Regions from separate parts of the Homo sapiens genome. Here region 2 is linked to region 1. Evidence: promoter capture Hi-C in 16 types of primary human blood cells and fetal thymus (Javierre and others, 2016). All regions are on one chromosome and are shown on one strand. Each heading gives the region's core, a stretch centred on a gene start or on the middle of the fragment in contact. The rest is flanking DNA. Distances are from core to core; before and after follow the strand shown. Region 1 holds the start of ASIC3 (acid sensing ion channel subunit 3). Region 2 holds the start of ZNF862 (zinc finger protein 862).

What was found. Contacts are between HindIII fragments. The CHiCAGO score rates a contact against its expected background, and 5 or more counts as called.
Region 2: a contact is called between the fragment with the promoter of ZNF862 here and the fragment with the promoter of ASIC3 in region 1, in 1 of 17 cell types (fetal thymus). The highest score is 7.0, in fetal thymus.

The regions. Positions count from the first base shown.
Region 1 is chr7:151,045,787-151,050,934 of GRCh38, forward strand. It overlaps ASIC3 (acid sensing ion channel subunit 3), which reads left to right and starts at 2,745. Exons shown (of 11, transcript NM_004769.4): 1 at 2,745-3,633; 2 at 4,320-4,470; 3 at 4,695-4,822; 4 at 4,972-5,148. The coding sequence starts at 3,100. ABCB8 (ATP binding cassette subfamily B member 8) reads left to right here. Exons shown (of 16, transcript NM_007188.5): 16 at 1-1,996. RefSeq lists an enhancer at 4,257-4,895. The HindIII fragment of the contact is 11,911 bases long and covers 1,760-5,148 here.
Region 2 is chr7:149,836,056-149,841,203 of GRCh38, forward strand. It overlaps ZNF862 (zinc finger protein 862), which reads left to right and starts at 2,320. Exons shown (of 8, transcript NM_001099220.3): 1 at 2,320-2,580. The coding sequence starts at 2,557. RefSeq lists a silencer at 2,396-2,855. The HindIII fragment of the contact is 19,921 bases long and covers 1-4,120 here.

The DNA of each region.
Region 1 (5,148 bases), core at 1,495-3,994:
GCTCTTCCCACACCCTTGCTAGGACCTCACTTCCCTAGACTGGCGACTGACTCCCTCTCCTGTGTCCCCACTCCCTCCATGGGAGAAGGAGCCTATCCCCTGGCTCACCCCGGGACCCACAGTCCCCATCTTCCAAACAACCTCCCTCCTTTCTCCCTGCACAGTGAACACAGTCCTGATTTCTAGATTTCACCTCCCCTCCCCACCCACAAGGGACACAGGCCTAACAGGGCCCAACACTTGGGTCAGGGTAGGAGGGACGGGGCCACAATGGCCAGTTCCCACGAGAAGCGCCAGCCTGCCTGGCTGTCTTCCACCGGCCCTGCCCTGTGTGCCTGGCGTCTTTCACCCACTGAGATTGTGAACCAGCCTCCATCTACACCAAGAACACCCAGCACTGAAGGAGATGGGAGGGGCTGATGCCCACCTGGAGCTCTCTGCTTCCTGCCCACAGTGCTGACGAGTACAGAGCTAAATGGAGCAGCTACTGCAGAATCCAGTACAGAATCGGTCCAGGAGGGTGCGGCTGTGGACAGGCCAGCATCCCCAGCAGGTTCTGGGAGGCGCACCTTGAAAGGGGAAGGCAGACATCCTGAGTGATGGGCGCCTGTGGCCCTGAGACTGTGGATGAGGGGGCTAGGCTCCAGCTGGCTTCTGAGGGGCCTGGAAAGGCACACAAGTAGGTCCTTGGCTGAACTGGTGCCCCAGCAGGACCTCGTGTCCCTGCACTGCTGCAGATGCATCAGCCCTCCCCATGTTGGTGCCGCTGTCACTTCCTACTGGGATCCTTCCCCTATCCAGCCACATCCAGGCTGTGGGACTACACGGTGCCCTGTTCCCCTGGGCAGGAGAAGAGGTGGTACCTGCAATGCACCTTCACAGCCAGGCAAGCATTCTGGATTTACCCTGTGTAAAGAAGGGTGGTACCCTCTTTCAGGGGTGTGATACAGTGCATTGATGGAGCAGCTGGTGCTGCTGGGAGGCCAGCCTGGAAGAGGCAGCAGTGGCTCAAGTTTGCGTGCAGGAGCCAGAGTGGGACCCACGGGCTCTTGTGGGTGTGGTTTAGAACTAGATGGTGCTTTGGGGACAAGCCATCCAAAAACCCCAGGCCCACATCCACCCTGATTTGATATCCCACTTCCTGACAGATCAGAGGCTGTGTCTTTAAGCAGTGGAGGTCCAGGAGCAGAGCCTGGGGCTGGTTCACAGCTAAACCCCTCCTTAGGGCAGCCCAGAGTAGGGCCTCAGCTGGCAAGTCCACAAGCCCTGCTGGGGCCCTGCTTGTTGGCCTGACCCCTCCCTCACCAGGCAGCCAGCCAAGGTGGTTCCTGCTTCACCCACTCAGTCATCAGCCTCAGGCTGCCCAAAATGCCTCTGACACCAGATTTATATCTTCTGGGCGGCTTCTTTAAATCCAGCCCTTCACCCGCCCCCTAGAGAAGCAGTGAAACCCCTTGGCTAGTCCAGCTGGAAGAGCTAGACCGCAGGAGCCGCGCCGTCTTCCTAACCTCGCCTCGGCCTTCGCTCCACAGTGGAGAGTGGGAGCCTAGCTGTGCTTGATGCTGAATGCCTGTTTTGAGAGTGTGAGTGGGATCATCTACAGTAAATACTTGCAAAGCATGGCACTGTGGCTCTGGGGAGCTGGTACGCCTGTGCTGTAACCATGGTACTCAGTCCTTCCAAAGTGTTTATTAATCAAGCACCTGTCATGTGCCATTGAGCCCACGATGGGGAATGAGGACAGTCCCTGCCCCCATGAAGCTTGTGTCCTGTTGGGAGGACAGACAGGTGGCCCAGCAGTTGCAGCATGGTGTGTGCACACGTTTGGCTGGTGGAACCATGTTTCTACCACTCATGGTCAAAAAAAGCCCACCAAAGTCCTGGGAGTTCACATCTGTGTGATGATACGGCAACATTGTTTGTAATGGAAAGACTGGACACCCCCAGTGCCCATCAGTGGGGGAGTCATTAAATAAACTATGGTATGTGCACATAATGGGTGGTATGCAGCCCTTTGGAAAAATGTAGGTTTTCCAGGTCCTGGATATAGCAGCGTAAGATGGGAAATCACAGAATACCCATGTTGTGCCTGAGATGGCAGGTGGGGTACCCGTGGTACCCGGGAGGGTGGCAGGTGGGGCACCCATGTTCTACCTGGGGTGGCAGGTGAGCCCATAACCATTGTAGAGGCCAACATCCTCAGAGGCCTGAGTGTGGGGAGGTAGGCTTTGACTCCCTAGGGAGAGAGGGACACTTAGGAAACAGACGGGCCCTGGAAGTGGGACATGAAGAGTGCCCTGGCCATCCAGTGTAGGCTGAGATGCTAGGGGCACAGAAAGAAGAGATCTGCTGATGCCAGCCTTCCAACCATTTCCCAGCTTGGCCAAGAGCCAGCTCTGGTATTCGTGAAGGAACAGATCCTGGGTGAAGCTAGAGGGAAGGCCGCAGAGGCAAAAGGAGAGAGGAGCTAGGCCAGGGGTCAGCGACTGACCCTCGCGGCCAGTGTACAGGGGTTGCAACTGGGAGCCTAGGGGGCCCCAAGGCATCTCCAGGCCCAATCTACCTCTGGGCTTTTCTCAAGCTCTCCCTAGGATTACTGCGGTTTCCTCCTGGCGCCTCTCGTCTTGGACAGCCATGCCCCCCTCCATGCTGCACTAATGGCTCAGCCTGGGGCCCTAGGGACCTCTCCTACCCCCCAGACTGCTCTGTCGGCCCCCTTTCCCCCCTACTGCTGAAACCCAATCCTCTGCAGCAGCGCCGGCTCAGCACCGCCGGCTCAGCACCGCTCCGCAGCCCCTGCCTGCCACGGTCAGCTACGTCCCACCTGGTCTGCTGCGGAGTCCCCAGCCCAGTGCCTAGCCCAGTGGAGCCACCGCCTGTTCCTCGGGAAGGAACAGTGGGACCTGACCGGCCAGATCACCTCCTCCAATCCTGCCAGGCTAGTGCCTCCCTGCCTTCCAACCTTGGCTGTCTCCCACCCTCTCTTCTCCTCTCCTTGCCTGGCCTCCTGAATCCTATCTTAGCCTCCTTAGCCCCCTGACTGACTCTCTCTCGCTTCTTCCAAGCCTCTGTAGCTGGTTCCGCTCCTGGGTTCTGGCCATGAAGCCCACCTCAGGCCCAGAGGAGGCCCGGCGGCCAGCCTCGGACATCCGCGTGTTCGCCAGCAACTGCTCGATGCACGGGCTGGGCCACGTCTTCGGGCCAGGCAGCCTGAGCCTGCGCCGGGGGATGTGGGCAGCGGCCGTGGTCCTGTCAGTGGCCACCTTCCTCTACCAGGTGGCTGAGAGGGTGCGCTACTACAGGGAGTTCCACCACCAGACTGCCCTGGATGAGCGAGAAAGCCACCGGCTCATCTTCCCGGCTGTCACCCTGTGCAACATCAACCCACTGCGCCGCTCGCGCCTAACGCCCAACGACCTGCACTGGGCTGGGTCTGCGCTGCTGGGCCTGGATCCCGCAGAGCACGCCGCCTTCCTGCGCGCCCTGGGCCGGCCCCCTGCACCGCCCGGCTTCATGCCCAGTCCCACCTTTGACATGGCGCAACTCTATGCCCGTGCTGGGCACTCCCTGGATGACATGCTGCTGGACTGTCGCTTCCGTGGCCAACCTTGTGGGCCTGAGAACTTCACCACGGTGAGCTGACCTCCCTACCTATCCTGCCAGGGACCCAGAGAGCCGACCAGTCCCTGCCCAGCACCCACAATTCCCTAGCCAGCACAGGCTCCCCCAAAGCCAGGGGACCTCTTCCTTCCTACCAGCCATGGACTCCCCACCCCCCAGTGCCACTCCGTGCAGCCCAGGAAGCTGTCCTCCTTGGGGCTTTCTCTGTCTCCCAGCCCGAGGGGAGCATGTGAGGCCACACTGACCCCGGCTGGCCCTAGGCCTGAGGTCTGGCCCAGGGAGGCCCTGCTCCTGGGGCTGGGGGTCCTCCATGGTGGGACCATTCTGGGGCAGAAGACCCCTATCTCTGCCAGGAGGTGGGGGGGGCTTGCTTTCCCTCTGCCTTTTCAACATACTGCCAGCCCCGGAGGACAGCCACAGGGGCCCATTTCCTTTTCCTGCAGTTCCCAGAGAAACACAGAAAAACCTGTAGGCTGTGCCCTGGGCTTTGGTGGGGATTGGCGGGGTGGAGGAGCTGAGTTGATGGGCTCCCAAGAGCGTCCTGCAACATGTGCCCACTGGAGCGTGGGGCTGGGGGCATTGAGATGCGGGCTTCAGTATTCAAAGAAGAGACGCAAACATACCATGAGGTGGGGAGAGGTCCCATGACCATGTGCCTGCCTGGGGGAGATGGCCATCACCCTGTCTGCCCGCCCCAGATCTTCACCCGGATGGGAAAGTGCTACACATTTAACTCTGGCGCTGATGGGGCAGAGCTGCTCACCACTACTAGGGGTGGCATGGGCAATGGGCTGGACATCATGCTGGACGTGCAGCAGGAGGAATATCTACCTGTGTGGAGGGACAATGGTAGGGAGCACACAAATGAGGCTGGGGGAGGGCACGGATGGAGTGCAAAAGGCTAGGGGAAGGAGAGGAGGAGAGGAGGTGTCAGGGTGTTCCCCCAGAACCTGTGAAAGGGGCTGGGCTGGCTCATCCCAGTCCTGGGGAGAGGGGCTGCAGTGAGAGGTCTTGTCTGGTTGGGCAGGAGACCTGACCACACAGGTCAGGCCTCACAGGTCCCTCCCCGACAGAGGAGACCCCGTTTGAGGTGGGGATCCGAGTGCAGATCCACAGCCAGGAGGAGCCGCCCATCATCGATCAGCTGGGCTTGGGGGTGTCCCCGGGCTACCAGACCTTTGTTTCTTGCCAGCAGCAGCAGGTACCCTTCCGTGTGCCTCCACACCTACTACTTCAAGCCCACACCACCTCAGACCCTAAACCCTCAGCTCCTCAGACCTGTCTAGGGGCCTCTCCCCAGCTGGCCTCTCACGCTCTCCGGGAAGCCTCCTTAACCCTGTCCCCCCACAGCTGAGCTTCCTGCCACCGCCCTGGGGCGATTGCAGTTCAGCATCTCTGAACCCCAACTATGAGCCAGAGCCCTCTGATCCCCTAGGCTCCCCCAGCCCCAGCCCCAGCCCTCCCTATACCCTTATGGGGTGTCGCCTGGCCTGCGAAACCCGCTACGTGGCTCGGAAGTGCGGCTGC
Region 2 (5,148 bases), core at 1,070-3,569, 1.2 Mb before region 1:
CTTGGTATACCTTCTATTCCCCACTTCATTTTCATGAGATGATCTTGTCTCAAAGAGACATCATCGGATGGAAATTCCCTCAGTAAATCTACAAACAAATGTACATCTACTCCATCTTCTTCTTCCCTCCTGGCATAACCAAAAGTGTTGCTATCCCGGCCAGACGCGGTGGTTCAGGCTTGTAATCCCAGCACTTTGGGAGGCCAATGCAGGTGAATCACTTGAGGTCAGGAGTTCGAGACCAGCCTGGCCAACATGGTGAAATCCTGTCTCTACTAAAAATACAAAAATTAGCAGGGTGTGATGGTGCACGCCTGTAGTCCCAGCTACTCAGGAGGCTGACACAGGGGAATTGTTTGAACCTGGGAGGTGGAGGTTGCAGTGAGCCAAGATTGAGCCACTGCACTCCAGCCTGGGTGACAGAGAGAGACTCCATCTCAAAAAAAAAAAAAAAAAAAAAAGTGTTCCTATCCCTAGGAAGGGCCCTCGATACCCTGTTCCTAGACCCTCCTGATTTCTCAAGGACTTGGTTCCTTGCACTATCCCCCTTTGAATCATCAGTTTCCTTCCCATCAACACAGAAACAAGATCTTGTGACTCATATCTTAGTCCTACTGCTTTGATTCCCCATTTCCCCCTAGATACTGCTCCATTTTTCTTGGAAAGATGGAAAACCTTTTATGGAAAAATGTGTCAAAAGAATGATTTACCCTAGCTGTCCTCCAGTTTTTTAACCCCTAAAAGAGAATCTGTTATAAAGACATGGATAACTCATGGGCAGAAATATAGCTCTTCAAGGTAGTGATATAGTCGAGGTGGTGAGTGGCAGGCCACTTGGAATCCACAGAGTCCTCACTCTCTGCCTTCTCCTCCACATTTCTTGTGTCTCATTCTTTTTTTCAGTAATGCAGACTCCCCTACACTCCTCGAACGGAATTTAGGTCTATTCAACCTTGGCCAGAAGAGCAGAGCTGGATAATGGAAAACGCTTACTTGAAGCCTGTGTAACATGGTGAAACCCTGTCTCTACTAAAAATACAAAAAAATTAGTTGACCATTGTCTTAATCTCTATGTGCTTCTGTAACAAAATCCCTGGAACTAGGTAATTTATAAATTATGGATACTTATTTCTTATGATTCTGGAGGCTGGGAAATCCAAGATCAAAGCACCAGCAGTGTCTGTGTCTGGTGAGAGCCTGGTCTCTGCTTCCAGGAGGGCACCTTTTTGCTCTGTCCTCACATGGCAGAAGGCAGAGGGGCAGAAGGGCAAAGGGCCTAGCTAGTTCCCCCAGCACGCATGTGGTCACTAACACCTTCATGAAGGCACATCCCTGCCCTGGCCCCCTAAAAGTCTTTTTTTTTTTTGAGACATGGTCTTGCTCTGTCACCCAGGCTGGAGTGCAGAAGCGCCATCCCGGCTTACTGCAGCCTCGACCACCCAGGCTCAAGTGATCCTTCCACCTCACAAAATTATTTTATTTTTATAGAGATGGGATCTCTCACTGTGTTGCACAGGCTGGTCTCAAACTACTGGGCTCAAGTGATCCTCCTGTCTCAGCCTCCCAAAGAGTTGGGATTAGAGGTGTGAGCCACCGCACTTGGACAAAACTTCTTATAAGGACACTAATCCCACCATAAGGGCCTGACCCTCACGACTTCATCTAAACCTCCCAAACGCCCCATCTCCTGGGAGGGGAACACCGGTCAGTCCATTGCACCTCCTTTACCTGGCAGACCCTACCTCTTGCTTTAATTCTGCTGAGGCATCACTTCCGCAGGAAATCCTTGACTAAGCACCTCATATCCCCCACCGCTTCACTCTAAGGTGACAACGCGGGCTTTAATTCATGTTTTGTGCTTACCTCTTTCATAGCCCTTGTCTCTGTTTTGTAATTATCTGTTTCTGGTCTGATTCCCTAATAGATCGTGAGTTCCTTGAAGGCAAGGCCTTTGTCTCATTCAACTGTGTTCTCCCAAACCCTAGAACACGGCCTGACCCATGGTAGGCAACCAATGATACTTTTTGAGTGAATAGAACAAAAAGTATTGCCCTCCTTAATAAAAGAAAACCTAGAACTTCAAGGCTGACATTGGCCTTCGCGTAGCCCAATCAGAGCGCTTTGCCCTTGCTGCAGAGGACTAAAGGACGCCACGCCGCCGTTGCCTAGTAACTGTCGCCGGAGGGAGGCGGGGAGGGTCGCAAGCGCGCCGCCGGCGTCCAATCAGGACCTGCGTTCCGGGAGCCAATAGCAGCTTCGAGAGCCGCTCACCTAGAGCGGACTACACTTCCCGTCACGCCCCGCCGCCTGGGGCTGGGCAGTGACCGTAAAGCTGTTCGCTCGGTGCGACGCAAGTCTCAGCTCAGCGCGCTTATCCTGGGTCCACCGGCGCTACCGCCCCCCGACGTGAGAGAGCGAAGTTCTTGGGCCGCGCTCCCTCCCTACCTGGGTGCCCTCCCCCTCCGGGAGCCTGGGTCCCCGGGGCGGTCGCGGCGGCTGCATCCTCAGGCCAGGCCGCGGGGGGAGGGGGCGGCACGGGCCTCCGAAAGCGGGGCCATGGAGCCCAGAGAGTCGGGGAAGGTAGGACTGGAAGGCCCGGGGGCCGCCCGCTCCCTCCCGAGGATCCCCGAGCCGGGCTCGGGCGAGGCGGGGCGGCTCGGGCGGAGGCCCCGCAGATGAGCCAGGCTTGCAGGGAAGGACTCGCCGGCCCGCCCTCTCTTCCCGCACTTCGGCGCCCGACCCCGGGAGGGTGGCGGAGAGGAGCGGACGCTTCCGTTCGGTGTCCGCGCATCCTCCCCGAGCTGCCGAGCGTCCGCTGGGTCGATGCTGGGTTGGGTGACCCCCGAGTGGAGCGATGCGAAGGTGCTTCCTGTTTTCCCCACCACCTTCGGCGTTTTGAAGAGGCCCTGCTAAGGCTTGGAGTCTGGATCGGACGCCAGTGGGAGCTGCAGGGTGGGACGCTTGAGGGCTTGACCCTGCCTAGATCCTCCTTACCAAGAAAGGGCTGAAAAGAGAGGGCATCTGGCATGCTTTTTGCCACTTCTGTTTCTAGGTTATGTACTTCATGGAATATCTGGGCATTGCTTAGAAACCTGTGTCATAAATTGGCTTTGGGCAAGAGGCTTTGAGTTGGAAGAAAAGGTGGAAAGAAAGTGCTTGGGGGCGGAGTTCAGGGATTTGACGGGATTGCCAGCGCTTCCAGGCCGTGTCATCCAAGACCAGTGTGGTTGTGGGCACATTAGCTTGGAGACAGTGGCAGCCTCTTGGGACTAACATCTTTCTGGATGTTGTTTGCTGCCAGTTCTTGAGTATTGTTTCTTATTTGGCACAGAGGAGAATTCTCTCAACAAACGTTTTCGACTGTTTATTGAGTCCCTTAAAAAACTGTCCATTTAATAAACATTTGTGATCTGTGATTTGCATTGAACGAGATGCTGGAAGTATGAGGATAAATAGGAAATGATCACCTTTCTCAAGGAGCTCTCCTGCAGTTTTCACTTCAATAACTTGGACACGCCTGAAAGGGTTGTCCCACACGAAAAGAGAGAAAAGGATAATGAGGTTCTTTTGATGCTGTAGTTTTTCCTGGGAAGACTAGGAAGGACTCTGAATTTCAAAAGAGGTGATTTCTCGCATGAGCATCTCTTCCATCCTCCCTCCCTCCACAAGCTACAGTGATGCATGTAGCAGACACGGCACCTACAGAGTACGTGGTCCAAGCCAATAAAGCTCAACAAAACCCAAGCAAAGATGGAGCTTATGGCCCTTACCCTTTGGAAATATCCCCAGATTGGTTTAGATTGAACCTGAATTTGAATAAAGAGAAGCAAAATGTAGGGGGAAGAAGGATTATAAAATATTGGGATTGATATTGGTATCAGTGATTTGAAGTTGATTTCCAAGCTATTCTGTTCAGTCAGAGGCTTTCTTAGCCTTTAACGGGAGAAGAGAAATACGGTCATGCGCTGTATAACAAGGTTTCCATCAACACCGCTCTCACGTACAATCCCCTGAGACTACAGTGGGGCTGAGAAATTCCTATCACCTGGTGACATCTTCATGATCCTGACCCTGTGTAGGCTTAGGCTAATGTGTGTGTTTGTGTCTTAGGTTTTAAGAAAGCTTAAAAAGTAAAAAAAAAAAAAAAAAAAAAAAAAAAAAAAATTTAAAAATACAAAACCTCATAGAATTAGAATATAAAGAAAAATACTTTTTGTTGATGGAATGGTTTGCTGGAAAATAAAAATACAAAAATATTTAAAGAAAAATATTGTACAGGTGTACAATGTGTGTTAAGCTAAGTGTTATTACAAAAGAGTCAAAAGTTTAAAAAATTAAGTTTATAAAGTAAAACAGTTACAATAAGCTAGGGTTAATTTATTATTGAAGAAAGAAAAATTTTTGATAAATTCGGCGTAGCCTTAGTGTGCAGTGTTTATAAAGTCTACAGAAGTGTTCAGTCATGTCCTAGGCCTTCACATTCTCTCACCACTCACTCACTCACTCACTCACTCACCCAGAGCAACTTCCAGTCCTGCAAGCTCCATTCATGGTAAGTGCCCAATACAGATGGACCTTTTTTTTTTTTTTGTCTTTTCTACCATATTCTTACTGTACCTTTTCTATGTTTAGATACGCAAATACTTACCATGTGTTACAGTGGCCTACAGTTTTCAGTACAGTAACATACTGTGTAGGATTGTAGCCTAGGGGGCAAAAGGCTATATACCATATAGCCTAGATATGTAGTAGGCTGTACCATGTAGTTTTGTATAAGTACACTCTGTGATGTTCCACAATGACAGAACTGCCTAAGGACACATTTCCTAGAACTTATCCCTGTTGTTAAGCAACACATGACTGTACAAACATTTTGGGAGGTAGAGGAGAAACCTGATTCCGTGTCCTGTCCAACCACTAAGTGAAACCTCAGAGACTGGAAATTTCACCCTTGATTATAATCTTGATTTTAGGGTATCTCAGAAAGGTGCTCACCCTTCCCAAAGATAGTTGTTTTCTAATATGGGAAATGAGAACTTCATACAAGAATGAAATAAAGTAATTACAAAACCAACTGTCAGTGTAAGATGTGTTGCAAATGAGTGACAAGGAATAGCGGTGCTGTTCTACAACTCCACTCCGAACAGC